Linked DNA regions of Homo sapiens: region 1 is linked to region 2. The links are contacts of gene promoters, found by promoter capture Hi-C in human tissues and cell types (Jung and others, 2019). All regions are on one chromosome and are shown on one strand. Each heading gives the region's core, a stretch centred on a gene start or on the middle of the fragment in contact. The rest is flanking DNA. Distances are from core to core; before and after follow the strand shown.

Region 1 (3,088 bases), core at 451-2,950, 110 kb after region 2:
AGGAGTGGAAGTGCTAGGCGAGGGAAGGTGACTGCGATTGCAAATAGCCATTCAGGGAAGCTTTTCTGAGAAAGTAACCACGGAACAAACACACGAAGAAGATAAGGATGCAAGTTTGTGCGTATGTGGGGGAAGAATATTCCACGTCGATGGCACAGCAACTAGTGACAGTGGCTAGAGCTCACAGGAATGAGGAGGCAGAGAAGGAAGGTGGGATCAGAAAGGTAATGGCCTAATTGTACAAATAGGTCATTGCAGAAGTGACTCAGTTAGAGCCACTGAAAAATTATAGGTTGAGGAATGACAGGAATTTATGTAACAATAGGACCACGGTCACAGCTGTACTGAGAACAGACTGATGAGGGTTAAGGGCAGATGCAGGGAATCCAGCTAGGAGGCTACCGCAATAATCCAGGTGGCTTTATTGCTATCACTACCGGGGTGGTAGTGGTGGTGGTAGTGCTGGGGTAACTAATGGTCAGATTCTGTATACAGTGTATAGCTTAGCTCCAACTAGAGGATCTGAATATAGGTATAAGTCAAAGGGAAGAATCAAGGATGACTGCAAGCATCTCTTCACTTGAGACCACATGGTACAGTTTTGACAACCATAAACCGAATAACCTTACATTCCAAAGTTGCATTGTGAATTACAGTTTTAAAATGTTGGCAAGACTAGAAAGTCTTCTAGCAGAAAACTGTAGAAAAGAGGAACACTGGGTGAGGAGGATAATACCTTGGAGCTCTCCTGTGGGCTCCGTCCTTCCTATACTGAAAGGAACCATGGATCCAGTCCCTTAAATGGACTTGGTTAGGTGGGAACAGGCAGGAGAAGCAAAGCAAACACACAGTCCTGATAAAGTGTTTCAGGAAGATTTGCGGACACACCGACCTACCTGAGGCATTACTCTGCAATTTCCAACAGCCAACAGAGTCCTCTTTCCAGGCTCTTATCTTAGAGATGGGCAGTGTCCTGAGGGCACAGAAGGGCAGGAAAAAGCAGTCATGAAAAATCAGGCTTATCTTGCGGCACCTGTGACACACCATAATGGAAAGGCACACTGGTAATCACTCTCCAGGGCGCCAATCTCTCCCTGGGAACTAACAGGGTGTTTCTCCGCAAGGGCTAACCATTTACCAGGTGCCACCTGCGAGGAAAATCAATTACTCTGTAAATAAAATCCTCATAAAACAATGGTAAAAACTTTATCAGCTCGTTCAGTCTTCACCACTATGCACGGTGTGCGTTCACATTTTTCCAGATCTATTTTTTAAACGATGACAAAACTGAAATTCCAAGATACTGAACCCATTTGTTCAAGGTTACACAACTGTAGAGCGCCGGCTTCATGACGACATAACCCAAAGACAACTGTGGCTGGCGTCTAACCACGCGCCCACTTCACTCTCACAACAGCGCCAAGAGGTCGGCGCCGTCATCACCCCGCGTTTACATAGGAGGACATGAAGGCCAGGAAAACCAAGGCACCGGCCGGGGTCACACCGCGGGGCAGACCCAGGGCCTGAGCCCCGCCGCCGCCCCCGGGACTCATACTGGCCGGAGTCCTCAGCAGGGCCTCACCGTCCCCGCAGGCGCCCCGCGTCGCTGGTGAGCGGGCAACGGCCGCCGACCTCTGGGGACGACACTGCCCAGAATCGTCCCGGAGCCTGGGAGTCGCCGTCAGGCCTGAGGCTACAGCGGGGCGGACCCAGTGCGCCGCCCACAGCCGATCGACATTTCCCAGAATCATCCGCGCAGGGGACAAAATTCCAGGCGCAACGAACCGCAGGTACCGGAAGACCACACTTCCCAGGAGTCTCTGCGGCCGCGCGGACCTGGGGCGCCGCGGGCAAACAGATCTCGGTTTCCTAAAAAACTAAACCGCCTGGGGCTGTCGTCCCAGAGCCCGGCAGTTAGGACCATGCGGGAAGTGTCCTGGGGCATATAGTCATACTGATGAGGTGAAAGATACACCTCGGAACCAAGGGCCACCCTCTACTTTTAAGGACAATGGCGCCGGGACCAAGAAACTACACTTCCCAGAAAACCGTGCGGCCGTGGCAAACTCTTCTGGGTCTAGCGTGCGCTCACACTAATGTTTATCTCCCGGGACGTGGGCAGACCTTGTACCAGGCGAGCTCTCGCCTTTGCTAGCAAAAGAGCTCCTCTCTTCCCAAACCCTGCTACTACGCTGTCCACCCTGTATGGTCTTTGAGGTCTTTGAGGTTTTTTTGGAATTCACTTGCTGGAGACTACAGCTCACAGAACGCCCTGGGCTGGATTGTGCCAGCTGTAGTTCGCGAACCAAGGACATTTCCTGGAAATGCATGCGGCCACGTATCTGTGACAGAAATGGCAGTTCTCACGTGCGTTACGCCCCCTGGAAGGACTTGGAAATACGGAACTTGAGTGAGCACTGAGAGGACACAGACCCTCATCCTGGGAGGAGTCACTCCTCCCGCAGCCATCAGAGCCTGACAACCGCTTCTCACCAGAGGCGCTTCTTAGACCCTGACCTTGCCCGGCTCACCCAAAGGGGCAATGGCCTTCTTTGTATGCAAGCCAGACAGTCTACTGTTGTATATTTGAATTTTTTACTTTATTTTTAATATTTTAATTAAATTTTAATTTAATGCTGCCTCTACCTCTGAGAGAGACAGGGAGAGATGGGGGAGGCCTGGAGTGGGGGCCCTGCGGGGCAGGGACAGGGGACCCTTCCTCACTTTGCACAATCTGGGAACCCTCCCCAAGCGGAACAGCCAGCTGCAGTGGAAAAGCACTGGCTTAGTGGGCTTCGTCCTGGGGACGAAGGCTGGGAGACTGCAGCTGAAAGGTGTGGGCTCCAGGAGGGCCGCAGGGGGCCTAGCAGCAGCGTCAGGGAGCAGAAGTCCGCCCTCCCTCCATCTTCCTTCCTTCTCTGGCCGCCAGAGCGCTCTGTCTCCCTCCCACGCCCACAGCTACAGGTGGAGCCGGCTTGGGGCGGGGGGGGGGTCCTCCTAGGGCGAAGAGGGCCAGGAGCCTTCCTGAGGACCTGAGGCTCCTCTGGGCCTCCCAGGGCTGGGCCTGTGATCTGATCTGCTTTGCCCT
Region 2 (3,020 bases), core at 521-3,020:
ATAACAGGCAACATGGATGGATCACAGAAACATGATGCTGAATGAAAGACTCCTTAAGGCTTAAGAACAGTGCATAATGTATGCTCCCATTTATATGAAATTATAGAGCAGCCCAAACCTGTAATGAAAACAATTCCTGCAGCATTGAAGAGAGGGATGCCTTCATTCATTTTTGTGTTGCTATAAAAAGAATACCTGAGGCTGGGTAATTTATAAAGAAAAGAGGTTTCTTTGGCTCACAGTCCTGCAGGCTGTATAAGAAGGATGATGCCAGGATCTGCTTCTGGTGAGGGCCTTAGGCTGGCAAAGAGGAGCTGGCATGTGCAAAGATCACTAGGCAAGAGAAGAAGCGAGAGAGGAGGGGAGGAAGGTGCCAGGCTGTTTTTAACAATCAGCTCTTGCAGGGCTTAATAGAGTGAGAACTCACTCATCACTGTGAGGAAAGCTCCAAGACATCATGGGGGCTCCAACCCCATGACCCAAACACTTACCATCAGGCTCCACCTCTAACGCTGGGGATCACATTGCAACATGAGATTTGGAGGGGTCAAACAAACCAAACTATAGCATGGGGGAGTCAGATGTGGGGGGTCGGGGCAGCCCCTCCCATAAGTGATCTCACAGGGCGAAGATCTGAGCTGTTGTCTCCCTGTGCTGACCAATCTGCTCTGGAGAAAGGGGATCTGACTGATCTGACGGGGTCAGGGTCCCAGTGTTCCACACATAGGTCCCAGGAGTTGGAGTTTCATTGCACATGAACTTCTCATCAGGGTATGTTGCAACAGATGCTCGGACAAGGTCCGCATGTCAGCAAGCCTTCTCTGCATCTAAGCTTACTTGCTGCTTTGTCTTTCTTCCTGCCTTACCCCCTGCCCAGCACCCCCACTGCTTGCCTTCCTATTATCCACCATACCCCTTCCTTAGCATTAATCTTTTCTAAATGAATTGTCTAAAATATATTACAAACTACCATAGCAGTTATGAACAAAAGTTTTGGAGATGGAGAGTGGCAATAATTGTACATCAATATAAATGTACTTATTGCCAGTGAATTGTGCATTTAAAAATTGTTAAAATGGTAAATTTTATGTTGTTTATACACAATATAAAACCATTACGCTACGTAAGTGAGCCCAGCCACAAAGAACCACATAGTCTATCTCTGCCCTAATTATCGTCAATTTCATATCGTCAACTGCAATAGCAGTTGCCTATAAAACAATCAACGACGTTAGCATGACGTTGTGACTGCCTTTGCATCAAATGTTTTTTTTCGGATAAACCTTTTGGAGGTAAAATTTACATGAAAAATGCACCTGTTTTATGTTCGCTAAGTTTTAACAAATGTGTACACTCAAGGCCCCACCACAATTCAGGTACAGATCATTTCCATCATCCTAAAAAATCCCCTTATGCTCCTTTGTTGTTAGTTCCTCCGCATATCTAACCACAAACAACCATTTATCCGCTTTCTGACATTTCATATTAATCTTGCTATTTCTAAAATTTGTTATACACAGAATCAGAGTATGCAGTTTTGGGTGTGGGTATTTGATAAGCATAATGGTTTTGAGATGTGTCTGTGTTGTTGAATAAATGTCAGGTTCATTCTACTCTATTTCCCAGTAGTACCCCATGTTCATAGTGGAATCATCCACAATAGCCAAAAGCTGGAAGCAACCCAGGTATCCAGCAATGTAGGAATGGGGAAACAAAACATACAATGGCATATTATTCAGCCTCAAAAGGAAGGAAATTCTAATACATGCTACAATATGGATAAAACCTGAAAAAAAACTATGCCAGGTAAAACAACCTGGACATAGAAGGACAAAGGTGTCATTCTACTTATATGATATACCTGGAATAGGCAAATTCATAGAGACAGAATAGTGGTTACCAGAGCTGTGGGGAATGTGTGCTGGGGAGTTATTGTTTAATAGGTACAGAGTTTCAATTTAGGATGATGAAAAAGTTCTGGAGATGAATAGTGGCGATGGTTATACAACAATATAAATGTACTAAATGCCAGTGAATTGTACATTTAGAAATTGTTAAAATGGTAAATTTTGTGTTATGTATATGCCATATAAAACTATTATAATACATGAATGAATCCAGCCAGAAAGAACCACATAGTCTATGGTTTCATACAGGAAATGTCCAGAGTAGGTAAACTCAAAGAGAGAAAGTCGATTAATGCTTGCCTAGAACTGGGAGGTGTGGGGGTATTAGAAGGTGATGGCTAAGGTGTACAAAGATTCTTTTTGGGGTGATGAATACTTTACAAAATTGTGTTGATGGTTGCACATTTCTGTGAATAGACTAATAGCCATTGAATTCTATACTTCAAATACATGGATTGTATTTTACATGAATTGTCTCTCAAAAAAGCTATTAGAAAAGAATCAGCCGATACAATTCATCTCAATAGTTGTGAACAAACTAATCGAAAAAAGCTAATATTCCTTTCAAAAAAAATCTTTCAGTAAAGTAGGAAGTGGACGGAATTTCCTTATTTCTTTTATGTGATAATGCATGCATTGAACGAAAAAAAACTTCAGTTAACAGCATACTGAATATTTTCCCCCCAAGATCAGGAAGTAGAAAATGAAGTCCATTGACTTCTCTTGGATTCAATGTTGTATTGGAGGTTGCAGCAAATGTGGAGGATAAGAAAAATTAAAATCATACAGATTTAAAAGGAAAGGGTAAACTACTCAATGCACAGAAATCCTGATTGTGTATGCAGAAAATCCTATAATCCATCTATAAAAAATTATAAAAAGTAAGGTATGAATTTTGCAAGGTGCTAGTATACAAGATCAATATATATAAAACAATTATTTTTCTGTAAACTGCCGTATACTAATACACGTACAAATGTGTGTGTGTGTGTGTGTGTGTGTGTGTGTGTGTGTGTGTGTATCAGCTGGTGGAGTGAAGAATTAATATTGGTAAGTTGTCCGTTTCAGCCAGAATCCAGAAAGCTGGTCTAGGGCAGCAGTCCCCAACCTTTT

What was found. Contacts are between HindIII fragments. The study calls those that stand out against the background at their distance.
Region 1: a contact is called between the fragment with the promoter of ZNF181 here and a fragment that was not itself captured in region 2, in 2 of the 25 tissues and cell types used here (mesendoderm cells and thymus).

Annotation. Positions count from the first base shown.
Region 1 is chr19:34,732,855-34,735,942 of GRCh38, reverse strand. ZNF181 (zinc finger protein 181) reads right to left here and starts at 1,700. Exons shown (of 4, transcript NM_001029997.4): 1 at 897-1,700. The coding sequence starts at 905. RefSeq lists silencers at 1,458-1,517, 1,618-1,667 and enhancers at 1,948-2,337, 2,058-2,575, 2,793-2,852. The HindIII fragment of the contact is 5,149 bases long and covers 1-3,088 here.
Region 2 is chr19:34,842,221-34,845,240 of GRCh38, reverse strand. The region is part of intron 3 of LINC02965 (long intergenic non-protein coding RNA 2965); the gene reads right to left. Among named protein-coding and RNA genes, the nearest start is that of LINC02965, 5.0 kb to the right of the region's middle. The HindIII fragment of the contact is 8,258 bases long and covers 1-3,020 here.